Linked DNA regions of Homo sapiens: all the other regions are linked to region 1. The links are contacts of gene promoters, found by promoter capture Hi-C in human tissues and cell types (Jung and others, 2019). All regions are on one chromosome and are shown on one strand. The core of a region is centred on a gene start or on the middle of the fragment in contact, and the rest is flanking DNA. Distances in the headings are between cores, read along the strand shown. Region 1 holds the start of RSPO2 (R-spondin 2). Region 2 has its middle 140 kb from the start of EMC2. Region 3 has its middle 73 kb from the start of EMC2. Region 4 has its middle 100 kb from the start of EMC2.

The links. Contacts are between HindIII fragments. The study calls those that stand out against the background at their distance.
Region 2: a contact is called between a fragment that was not itself captured here and the fragment with the promoter of RSPO2 in region 1, in 3 of the 25 tissues and cell types used here (dorsolateral prefrontal cortex, hippocampus and liver).
Region 3: a fragment that was not itself captured here is called in contact with the fragment with the promoter of RSPO2 in region 1 in 2 of the 25 tissues and cell types used here (H1 embryonic stem cells and mesendoderm cells).
Region 4: a fragment that was not itself captured here is called in contact with the fragment with the promoter of RSPO2 in region 1 in 2 of the 25 tissues and cell types used here (mesendoderm cells and thymus).

What each region holds. Positions count from the first base shown.
Region 1 is chr8:108,081,739-108,085,094 of GRCh38, forward strand. RSPO2 (R-spondin 2) reads right to left here and starts at 1,882. Exons shown (of 6, transcript NM_178565.5): 1 at 1,459-1,882; 2 at 807-1,069. The coding sequence starts at 900. RefSeq lists silencers at 1-197, 738-913 and an enhancer at 75-1,021. The HindIII fragment of the contact is 6,606 bases long and covers 1-3,356 here.
Region 2 is chr8:108,584,466-108,587,699 of GRCh38, forward strand. No RefSeq gene overlaps it. Among named protein-coding and RNA genes, the nearest start is that of EMC2, 140 kb to the left of the region's middle. The HindIII fragment of the contact is 5,052 bases long and covers 1-3,234 here.
Region 3 is chr8:108,515,324-108,518,378 of GRCh38, forward strand. No RefSeq gene overlaps it. Among named protein-coding and RNA genes, the nearest start is that of EMC2, 73 kb to the left of the region's middle. The HindIII fragment of the contact is 4,412 bases long and covers 1-3,055 here.
Region 4 is chr8:108,545,809-108,549,023 of GRCh38, forward strand. No RefSeq gene overlaps it. Among named protein-coding and RNA genes, the nearest start is that of EMC2, 100 kb to the left of the region's middle. The HindIII fragment of the contact is 4,221 bases long and covers 1-3,215 here.

The DNA.
Region 1 (3,356 bases), core at 632-3,131:
TGATGGAGAGGGAGGGAGCAGTTAAAAAGCCGCAAGTGAATTTCATTGAGAACAGAAGCCTCCACCGGTGTGGCTGCTTTTGCAAAGCAAATGGAGAGAGCGAAGTGGGGCCTGTTTTAAAAACAAACCTCTGGAGGCGAGGACTCCCCAGAAAACCAGCGCGGGAATTGCTGCTTAATTCAGAAAGTTCCCATCTCGTCGCAGTTTCCAGAAAAAAGAGATCTATGTTGGCCTTTTTCTGGAAAGGGAGGTCCTCCCCCTCGACTTGGTACCCCTCCCAAGCTCCGGAATACAGACACACGCTTGGGTACACCCACACACCACACACACACTATGCTAGGTCAAGTCCGAAGAGATCTGAGGCCGGGTTTGGGGCGCACGTGGATGGGGAAGATAAAACAAATGAGCTACAGGGAAGATGGTTAGGAGGACAGAGAGAAGAACAACGACGACAAAAAAAAAATGCATGTCAGATAAGAAATACGTCCTAAAGAGACAAGTTTAGATGAGGAGGTGGGGCGGCGAACATGAGTGCGGACCGCACGACTTAGCCCTGAGCGCCCGATTGGCGCCCGGCTCGCCGAGCTCCCAGCGCGTCTCGCTCCGGCTCCCCGCGCCTCCAGGGTACAGAAAACAGAGTGTTTTGTAGAGCTCCAGGGTCCTAAAGGTGGGGACTGGGGACCCGCAAAAGCTGGGGTGGAGAGCACAGCCCTGACCATCTGAGCCCCCGGAGCCAGGGCGTGAGTGAGCGCCTCCACACGCCACCCCTGAAGCCCACCACGCACCTTTGGCAGAGAGGGACCCACCTCGCTTACTGCGTCTCCATCGGTTGCCTTGGCAGTGGCTGTAATCCATGCAGTTCAGAATGATGAGGGCAAAGGAGAAAAGGCGAAACTGCATCTGGGCGGTCGGGCGGGGGAGAGACGCCTCTCAAAGTCTAGGAACTGGAGGGTTCGCCCAAAGAGCCGGCGCCGGCCGCGCTGCTGGGGAGGACTCAGAGGGAGACTCGCCACTCACCCCCGGGCCGCACCGGTCAGTTCAGCGCGATCAGCATCTCTCCGCCACGAACCTGAGAGACAAGAAGCGAAAACAGGGTGTGTGGGGGATGGAGAGAGCCCCGGGGAGGCAGCTGCGCCTTCGCACGTCCCAATTTAAAGAAGAGAGGGAAGGAGGAAGCGAACCCACTGCCTAGCACGAGCCGCGGAGCGGCTTAATCCAGAGCGGGCAGCTGCGGACGAGTTGGAGAGGAAGGTGATTATAATCAGTGAATTAGCAACCTCTGCCGAGCCCTAAGCTCCGACCCAGCGGCATAATGCGTTGTGCCGGCGCTCCGGGGAAAGGAAAGAACTCTAAAGGCACTGAGAGCGCAGGGCTAAAAGAACGCTCTTAGGCCATTTGGAGTCCACGGCGGTGTACCCAAGCGCCGCAGCTGCGGCTGCCTTGGTGTGGGTTGCCTACCGTGCGCACGTCTCGGGCGGCGCGGCCTCCCTAGGCGCGGTGCTCCATCCCGGGCTCGGGAAGCGAGCCGCTTGGTTAGCACGTGGGCTGGGGAAAAGTTTGCCGAGACCGGCTGGGAGCGCCTGGCAGCTCTGGAATTCCAGCGGCCGCCGCGGGGTTGGCGACGCCAGGCAGGAGCGCGGAGCGGCGGGTGCAGCCACTGGGATGCTCCGTCCCCGCCCGCGAGCGCGGTCCCCAGGCAAGGGGTGCGCCCGCTCACACTCTCTGCCTCCCTAACCAATTGTGTCGCTTCCTGCGCTTTCTCCACGGTCACTTCACAGCTAAGATTTCTTTCTTTCCGAGCTGTAGAAGGCAGAACGCTCTCGGGAGGACGAAGTGATCCGAAGGGATGTGGCAAGCGCACTTTCCGATGGAGATGCAGACCGGCTGAGGCTTGGGATGCTTCTATAAGTAGGTGGTGCTGTGGTCCAAGGCATCTAAGTCTAGGCTGCCTCGGAGTTCCTGGGTCCTAAAGCCAGAAACGTCCCGGTTTCCCTGAGGTCCTAAAGAACGTTGACAGCCAACAGCGCGCCTAACTTGGAGCGAATCCTCTTCGGGCTTTCCAGAGTGCGGGGGATAGATAAAGAGTAGCTGGGGAGACGCCCCCTGACCTTGCTGGGTCCCAGAACCCGGCTGCTCACCCCCAAGGGGTCCTCTCCAGCCCTCTAGGGTCAGTTCCAACCTCAGCGCCAACCTTTCTGCAGGGAGATCTGACTGAAGGACTGATGACTCCCTTTAAACTTTTGCAATATGCCACAACTCTGCCACTTTTTAATTTACATCTTGTCTGTGTTTTGCAGGAAGGTATGTTAGCCGGCTGAAATTATTCATAAAACGCGCCCCCACTTTGAGGAGTGAAATGGGTATTCCCAACAGCTTTTGTTCATCCTCAGAACTGTTATTTACTTTGTTTCTTCTCCAATAAAACAAAAACCTGTGATCCGTTGCCTGAAGTGCTGAAGAAGTTGGGGCCTTGATTCTTTAAAAATAATTTTAAAAAGTTCACTTCCCACTAAAGTATTTTTCATTCTTAATCCTCCTCTCATTTCCAAAGTCTCCTGAATTAAACTTTTAGGTGCTTTGGGTTTGGGGAAAATATTCTGTTTAACAAAGTGTTACATTAAATAGACTTGATGCCATCCAATTTCATTCTGGTGAAATCTGTCCTGCATTCACTACTGTAGGAAAAAATGTATTTATTCCTTAAGCAAAAGATAAGAATTTATGCCACTAACCGTGGCAGTATGAATGTCTATAGATATGCCCGCAGTTACCATATTATTATGATAGCATTTTATACTATTTAAATTCCCTTTTCTATTCCTTCAGTTTCAGAAGATGTTCAGAAATTTGATGACTTAAAAGACAATCATATAAAAAGAATATTGCAATACTCATATTTATTAACTATTCCATTATTGCCTATTCATAACTATTTTACAGACTCACTATTACATAGTGGTATTTATGTGCTAAGAATTTCAGCAGTATGCCTTTGATGCATGCCTGAGAACACCCAAGTAAATCTGAGTTGAGGTCATTGGTCCCATTTCATAGATAAGAAAATCCATCACTGAGACTGGCCCACAGGGCACAAATAGAGTTCACAAAACACATTGCAGAAACAGTGGATCTGTTTCTTGACTTTTGAGCCTTTGATTTTTATCACAGAATTTGGAAACATTTCAGTGTAGGGAGTGGCCCCAGTGTTTGGCATAACTTGATATTTCTTGATCATCTTGATATGATGCTGAATATCTCTTCAGCACCATAAATACTACTTCTTTCCAAATATAGTCATATATGCACACAACAAATGAATTATACTTATAAAGGAGTTAAATCTATGGGAGAAAGGA
Region 2 (3,234 bases), core at 458-2,957, 500 kb after region 1:
CATTTGCACTGAGCATGTTCTGGCTGAAAGGACTTTTGTAGTTTCTTTGAGTCTCAGAGAATGGTATTCATTGTTAGTCTTTAGTATTTGAAGATGACCTCACTGATAGGATTTTATCCCCAAGTGGCTGAAAGAGCTGTGGTCTAGGAGGCGTGTGGGTGTGGGAAGGCTTTTCTTTGGTTTGTGGGGCCTGGTATTTGTAGTGCCACCTTTCTTCAGGCTGCTTGTCAAGATAAGTTGGCTCATGTCTGTTAGTTGTACACCAGGTTCCTCTGTTGGCAGGTGTTCTATTCCAGAATTCCATAGTTATCGACAAATGGACTATGTCAACACAAGCTTTTATTGTGTTTTGAGGTACTTTTGGAGCCTCTGGCAGCTGCTCTCATTTTGCAGAGCAAAACTGCTGCTGAAGGTTTGGTAAAGGTTAATTTTTAAATGGATTCTATGCTGCTATATGTGGCATCTCCCTTGGTATTTGAATCATTCAGCACATAACCCCATCGTTAGATCATTTTTTTGTGAAATTTTTGTTGGTCACCTTTAAAGCTACATCAATCACTTGGTAATGGAAAAAAAGTCAATGTAATGATCTGCTTTGAAAATAAACAGTCTAACTTGACTTTGGCATTGAGAGCCTATTATCATGTGGTAACATCATTCTATTCCAATGACATTAACTGCTAAGGATGTTATCGTGGTGGAAAATATTTCAATTTTGTTATCGGAACAATGAAGCTGTGATATTTAATTATGAAGAAGTATGTTTAATTTGGGGAATCTGGCACGTTGACTGCCACAGTTTACTTGTCAGAAGCCTGGGCAATGGTAATGAAATTTGGACACAATATTATTTAGTGACCCACCAAAGTTATTGATTCAACAGGTTTTCTTGCTTTCTCATGTTTTCTTTGTAATATTATTTCTTCCATTAAGTCCGTTGATTAACAAATTAACTAATTAATGAACCCAATTAATACATTGCAGTACTAGCTAGTAGAGAAGGGCTAGGGTATGAAGAATAGCATCTCTGGCTAGTTTTTACTTTTGGAAGGTGAGATCTGTTTAAATGACACAGCAAGAAAAGCACTTCCAAATTGAAATGTTAACAACATAAGGGGAGTTTTTTCTCCCTTCCCCCACACATTTTGTGTTGAGAAAATTGAAAATAAAACAAAGCAAATAGACATATGGATTATACTGATAAACATATTAATGTGATGAATTAAAGCTGATCATAAAGTGGTAGAGTCAGTGCCACTGAAATAAGATTTGAAATGCAATACAGAGTATGGCCTGTTCTACAGTAACTCTTCTGCTGAAAATCAGCTGTAGCATCCTCCCTTCTTAAATGACCTTCAGTTACAGCTGCTGGCTAGCCAAGAAATAGCTGGGCCCCCTTTCCTGAGTACCTATTATGTGTCAGACATTATACTTGGTCTTAGGGCATAAATGGACAGTACAGACATTGTCCCCAAAGTGCTCTCTATCTCATGGGAGACAGGCAGAATAAATGATGAGGCTTTTTGTTTACAATGTACAATAATGTAATACATTAGTAAGAACCAGTTAATCAGGAACTCAGAGAATCCTGCAATACCTGAGCCAGAAGAAACTCAGAAAGCATAGAGTCCACTCTTGTTTGACAGTGAAGCTTCTGAACATCTGAGAATTGCAGTGGCTTGCCCAAGGTCATGGAGCAAGTTGGTGGCAGAACTAGGACCAGCACCCAGTCTGCAGGACAGTGTTCTTTCTGCTGCTTTACACTCCTTTCAGAGCTCTAGTCCCAGCCTGGTGTCAAGGGGATTGGAATTCTGCTGCAGAAGGAGTTGCAGAGGGAGACTTTGCTTCACAATTTCCCTTGGTTGCAAGCTGTGATGTGAAAACTTTATGTTTCCTTTTTGTTTATCTGGGGGCGAAGGATAGATTCCAGGAGAACCTGGCTAATGGCAGGCTGTTTCTGCAGCTGGGCCAGAGATGCTCAGTGCCCTGGTTTTGGCTGCTGAAACATTCTGAGTCATTCACTTGGAGTGTCCCCAGATTCACAAAAGTGCCACAGGGACCACAAAGCAGAAGCTTTGTATATGTGGAAGGCTGGGAAGAATGGAGGGGATTGTACTGAGGGCTACCACCAAATTCACATGGGAGGTGTGTTCTCACACATGGTATAAGAACACAAAAATGCCCTTTTTTTCCAGACAGGGGGCCACAATCAGAAGGTTGGTGACATCAAACTGTGAAGAAAAGTAGCCCTGCCTGCTTGTGAACGAGCATAGGTAATTGACAGAAATATGCTCTTTCTGGCTTGTTTTTGTTTGTTGTAAACTATTTGCTATTTCTAAAAACTGTATGTATTTATGGTATAAAACATGATTTTTTTTTGAAAACTGGGGATTTGTACATTGATCATGAACCCCACAAGGTAGATGCTCTCACCACCCCCTTTTTGTACAGAAAGAAAGTGAAGCACAGAAAGGTAAAGTTGCCCAAGGTCAGGTAACTAGTGGGCATCCAAGCTGCCATTCAAACTCGGCAGCCTGCTTCCACAGTCCGTGCTCTTCCTCATGTGGCCTCTGGCATTTGTCTCTGGAGTAATTTCACACTTTCTCCTTTCCAAGGGATCTTGAAACAACATGATGTTTTGATGTACATATACATTGTGGAATGGCTAAATAAAGCTAATTAACATAGGCATTATCCACGAACATCACCTTTTTTGCTGGTGAAAACATTTAAAAGTTACTCAAATCTGTTCTCTTAGCAGTGGCCTTTCTGACTTGTACTTCTTCGCTTCAGCTCAGTGCTTTTTGTCAGTTCTCTTAGTATATACAAGCCAAAATCTTCTTAGTCCGTAGACTCTCTAGAATGTCTATCAGAGAGAAGTCATTAAATAACTGGTTTTAAATAACCCAAAACTTTGTAGGTTAATTCAAAAGTGAGTGCTGTGTAAACTTGGCATTGTTATATTTTACAGAGAAGCCTTATTTTGTTCTGCCAAACTTTATTAAAAAACAAAAACAATATACCAATGGACAGAATTTTCTCTGCCACTTGAGGAGCCCCTATCCCAAACCGAAACTACTGAAGCTGATCACACAGGCATACACATCACTGGTAACTCTATAAGAAATAAAAGGAAAAATGAATATGTCTGGTTACCACAAGCCCATGTAATAATGCATGGCTGTGTGACACAGAAAACGGTATATAGGTCAAAAATGCCTTGGAAAAATACAA
Region 3 (3,055 bases), core at 138-2,637, 430 kb after region 1:
GTCTCCAAAAAAAAAAAAAAAAGAAAAACGAAAGTCAAATAAATTCTAAGATTAAGATTAAGAACTTCCCTTCATCAAAAATCACCATAAAGTGAAAAGATAAACCACTGGGAGATGATACTTGCAATATATATAACAAACAAGTGATTAGTGTCTCTCTAGAATATATATATGTATATAATGTGTATAATGTATATAATATATACATAAAATATATAATTATGCATAAATGTAATACATATAACTTGCAATATATATAACCAAGGTATTAGTGTCTCTCTCCAATGAATACATACATATTTTATATATATAATGTATATATGCACAAAAATATATAATTATACATAAAAATGTTATATAATCATATGTAACATTTTTCTTATGAATTAAAATAGAGAAATGGACAAATTCAACTTATTTCAAACTGAACTTACTATCTTCTTCCAGAGAGCAGCTCCACCTACTAACTCAGGTGAAAAAACCTCCAAATTATCTTAAACATCCTTCTAAATTATCTTAAACATCTTCCTTTGCATGCCTGTAGCCAATTAATCTCCAACTTTTGGTGATTCTATATCTGAATTGTTTCCTAAATTGTCCCCTTTTCTTCTAGTTCCACTGACACTAACTTGGTTCAAATCTTCGGATACATATTCCCTTTAGCCTAGGGAAATACAATTCTAATTGATTTCCCTCTTCTTCCTTCATTATTCATTCTTTTTGCAGTGCCAACAGAAAGTTGTTTTTTGTTTTTTTAACACAGAACAAGCTTGTCATTCTTCTATTCAAAAATTCACCATGGTCTATAAATTTTGACTCTTCATTTTTCAGTTTTATCAAATTATGCATACATATAGCTTAAAGAGTCATGGCCACTACTATTACTACTGCTATAACCATTTGGGTTCTCATAATGAATTTCCTTGGGGGTTTCCAGTGTCTTCTGATCAAACGAAAGAGATAGATAAAGATTTTCATAGTCCATTTTAAAATTTTTCATGAGAATTTCCTTGTCTGTTTATCTTGGTCTGCTATTTGAAGGGCTTAGGATGCCTTTCCTTGTCTTCTCTATTCTGCCTCAGGGACAACTTAAGTCCTATGTAATTAGTTTTGATAATACTTTATATCAAAGCATATAACTATATGACTTAATTTATTACATACTTGGCTTTATTTAACTATTTCATATTTATTATTATTATCTCTTCAGCGACTTCCCAGGCCTATAAAATGCCATCTGAAGTAACTGCTTTCAAAATTTTCTTTCTGAATATTTTTATAATGTCCAGCACCATGGGTTAATCCAGTAACATGAATTATAGATACTTAAATAACATATTAATTGGTCTAAATTTTAGGTGAATACATAAAGGAAGGAAGAAACTCAATCTTCCAGTAATATATACAGTTTTTGGAAATATAAATGCTGCATGGCTGATCATGCTATTTTTCTACTCATCCTTTCTTCCCTCCTCAAGACATTTTCTCCAAGAAGTCTTTTTCAAAACTTCGCTTTATGGTGGTTTTGGAAAAAATAAAATAAAGCAGGTTGACTCAGGGGTGGCAGAAAAGAAACCTTTAGCCAGCCAAAAAAAAAAAAAAGTCTCCCTTACTCCCTCAGCAGAGTTGGATTCCCAAATAGTCACAAATCAACAACAGTTAATGAGGCTGTTCTTACCACTAATAGTGCTTTACATTGCAGGGATTTCTGGTGGATCATTTGGCATTTTCATTTCCTTGACATATGCAGAAGGCATTTAAAGTTGTCAGATTAAAGATATTTCTATTACTTTAGACTTCTTGGAAATCTCAAGTGAAAAAGTACCATCATGGCACATGGAGGAAAACTAAATCTCTCCCTTTCCTAGTTTAGCTAATTTTTGTTGTTGTTATTGTTTCAACTTCAGATATAGTTGGGAAAATATGTGTTTATTTTAAAATTAGCAATATGTGTTTATTTTAAAATTTGAAACAATTACTTTAAATATGGATTATTTAAAAGTTTTGCTAATTAAAATAAGGTATCAACACAGTGAATTTTCAGTATTTAAAAAATTAAGGTATTAACTGTACCCACATTCAAGATAAAAAAGGAAGAGATTCTGCTAAAATGTAGAATTTCGACTGATGGATAAAAACATCAGAAAACACTCTGGAATAAAATTCTGTTCATAGGCTGTGGTTACAAGTGCCTATTTTTAAACAACTTTATTGAGATATAACTGATACACAAAAAACTGCACATATTTCATATACACAATTTAATGAGTTTGGACAAACGCATATACCCTTGAAATCATCACTACAGTCAAAGTAGTTATCACATCCATCACCTCCAAAAGTTTCCCTATGCTCTTTTTTGTTTGTTTTTGTAGTAAGCACACTTAACCTGTGATCTACCCTCCTAACAAAATTTTTACGTGCACAACACAGTATTGTTAGTTGTAGGCACTGTGTTGTAGAGCACATCTCTATAACTTATTCATCTTGCATAACTGAAACTTTATACTCATTGACAACTCCCAATTTCCTCCTAACCCCATCCCCTGTCAACTACCATTCTACTCTCTTTCTTTGAGATTATTTTAGAAACCTTATATAAGTGGAATCATGTAGTATTTGTCCTTCCGTGACTGACTTCTTTCACTTATCATAGTGTCCTCAAAGTCATCTAAATTTGTTGCATTTGGCAGATTTCCTTCTTTTTAAAGGCTGAATTGTATTCCATTGTATGTATTAAATATATACCACAATTTCTTTTTTTAATTATTTTTTAAAAGGTTTTAAGTTCAGCAGTACATGTTCAGGTTTGTTACATAGATAAACTTGTGTTATGGGGGTTTGTTTACAGATTATTTCGTCACCCAGGTATTAAGCCTAGTAAACATTAGTTATTATTCCTGATCCTCCCCCCTCCTCCCAACCTCCACCTTCTGATGGGCCTCAATGTGCATTGTTCTCCTCTATGTGTCCATATATTCTCATCATTTAGCTCTCACTTACAAGTGAGAACACGTGGTATTTTATATGCCATATTTTCTTTATCCATTCATCT
Region 4 (3,215 bases), core at 645-3,144, 460 kb after region 1:
TTTTTTGAGACAAGGTCTTGCTATGTTGCTCAGGCTGGTTTCAAATTACTGGGCTCGAGCAATCCTCCCATCTTAGCCTCCCAAGTATCTGGAATGGCAAGCATGCACCACCACTCCCAGAATTACAATCTTTGATAACTTAATCACGGAAGTGAGATTTCTTCATTTTGCCATATTCTACAAGTTGAGCATCCCTTATCTGAACTGTTTGGGATCAGAAGTGTTTCAAATTTCAGTATACTTTTTGATTTTGGAATATTTGCCTATACATAATGAGATATTATGGAGATGGCACCCGAGTCTAAACACGAAATAATTTTGCTCATGAAACAAAGTTTTGACTGCAACCCATCACATCAGGTGTGGAATTTTCCACTTGTGGCATCATGTTGGCACTCAAAATTTCAAATTTTGGACCATTTCAGATTTTGAGTTTTCAGATTAGGGATGCTCAAGCTGTGTTTGTTAGAATCAAGTTATTAGGTTTAGTCCACACTCAAGGAAAGGGATTTACACAAGGGCATGAATACCAGTAAGGATGGACCACATTGGGAGCCACTTGAGAAGGCTTATGACAATAATAATGTAAAGAACATGAGAAGAAAAAATAATATATTCACATATAATAATATGTTTGCATAGATATTTATCATTTCTATTGCTCTTCCTTTATTACTGATGGTTCCAAATTTCCTTCTGTTATCATTTTACTTTCTGTCAGTGAAATATCTGTTATCAATTATTTCAGAATGGATATGCTGATAATGTATTCTCTTAATTTGTCTTCTATTGGGAAAGCATTTTCTTCACCTTTTTTTTCTGAAGGCTATTTCACTGCGTACAGTAGAGCAGTCTGGGTTAACAGTTGTAGTTCTTTAAAATGTATTCAATTGCATCTGACCTCCATGTTTTCCAATTAATCTGAAGTGTTTTCTTATAAATAATATGTCATCTACTCTGATTACTTTCAGATTTTTTGTCTTAATTTTTAGCGGTTTAATTATGATAGATTTCTTTGAGTTTCTCTTGTTTAGGATTCCTGGGCTTCTTGAATCTGTACATCTACATGTTTCACCATATTTTCAAAGTTACAGCCATCATATCTTCAAAAAAATTTTAGCACTGGACTCTTTCTCTTCTTTGGTATTCTAATGGCACAAGTATTAGATCTTTTGACATATTACTATAAAATGAGGCTCTGTTATCTTTCTCCCAGTATCTTCTTCCCTTTTTTGTTGTTGAGAATTTTAATCTTTTCTTTGATTCCTAGAGTGCTCTCCTTTATTTATTATAAGGTCTTTGTAAGATAATTTCAACATCTGTGTCACTTCAGTGTTGCTGTCTATTGGTTGTCTTTTTCCATACAGATTGAGATTTACTAGTTCTTTATATGACAAATAATTTTAGATTGTAGGCTGGATATTTTGAATGTTACATTATGCAACCCTTGGTTTTGTTTAAATCCTATGGAGAATGTTGATATTTTTTGTTTTAGCAGGCAATTGGCCCAATTTTATCTAGCTCACAAGTTCTGTCCAGCCTTCTGTGAATTGCAGTTCCAATGTAAGCTTCATTCTCAAAGCCTTTGTAAGTACTTTTCTGATCTGTCCAATGTACACACCACCCAATGGCCATTCTAGAACCTATCTCATAGTTCAGTTCTCATAGTGTTTGTTAAGCTGTTTAGGATCCAATCGATGCATATACAACTTGAGAAAAAGCCTAGGAGTTCATAAATAATTTTATGGGGTTACTTTCCCAAGATCCTTCCTGTTCCTAGCACTTTCTAGTTTCCTGATGTTCCCAAAGTTGATCTTCTGGCTAGGATGATGGAGCTTTATTTAACCTGCTTTGCTTCCCACTTGTCATAAATGCACCTACAATGGGACCCCTTGTTGAGAGGAGAGATAGAGAAAAGGGCAATGGGGTTTCATCCCACCCTAACTGAATCTGAGTTTCCTTACTCACTGTGCATTAAAACACATTTTCTTGTTAACATTATATTATTTTTAAACTTCTTTGAAATGAGTTTGGAAGGGAAAGTCATTTTGCTGAAAGCTTGCACCTTTCTCATTTGAATCAAAGGACCGTACTCTGTCTGTTACCAAGCATCGGAAACACATGGTGGGGCCAGCTGCCTCAGGTAAGTACCGTGTACTAAGGGAATTCTTTGCAGAAGGAGAGATCTGAAATCAACTGCCAGATGAGGAATCAGACAACAGGGGGAAAAAAAAGAGAGAGAGAAGAGTACAAGAAAGAAATGGTTAGGGCATCTGATAGATATTGGTCTTGGTGTGATGACCTGATGTTGAAGTTAAAACACCACCACCAGCCCTAAAGTTAGGTTCATGTAATTTTTAGTTGTGTTCAGTCTTTATGGGACAAATTCCAAATCCTACAATGGCTTCACTTTGACAGGCCTTTTGTCTATTCAAACCATATTTCTTTCTACTACAGGTTAATATTATTGAAAGATCATATTTTGATGTTTCTGGTTTCTGGAAAGTTTGTGAGATCAAAGTAAATGAAAACCAGGACTTTTAGCTATGTTCTTACCACCTTTTCAAGGTAAGGGCACAAAGGAATTCTATTCATAGACAAATAAATACTTTAAAGATTTAGTTTTATGTGAATAAAATCTTTAATAAGTATTGTCCATTTTAGACTCTGAACTGGGCACTTAAAACCATGTGATTGGTTATTAGAATAAAAATAAAATGATTTTTAAAAATAAATAAAACCTCCTAAGTGGGGCAGAAAAATGATGTCATTGAAATCTGAAAACTGTCTTTAACAGTTTATGTTTATACAGTGATATCCTGCTGATGTCTGATGTAAAAGAAAAAGAAAAAAAACTTCTTAGAGAAAATTAGTTACTTGAACTAAGGCTGCTGAATGCATTTAAATCCTGCAATTTTGGCAGAATATCACATCATCTAAATGGGGGGAGATAAACTCGAGGTGTAAAGGATATGAAATGCAGTTTGCATTCTTGACTTCCCAGACAGTAGATTGCAGAAGGTGATAAGTTAAAGCTTCTGAGGAAAAAGGTAAACTAATTCTGGAGCTGCCAGTGATATATCCTGGCTGGACTAAAATCAAAGTATTTTCATTAGCCTAGGCAGCCTAAAAGACATAGTGTTATTTTATTTTTTAAAATATAATTTCCACCTTGTAAATACATCATGATATTTCTTATTGGAGAACTTGCAGTT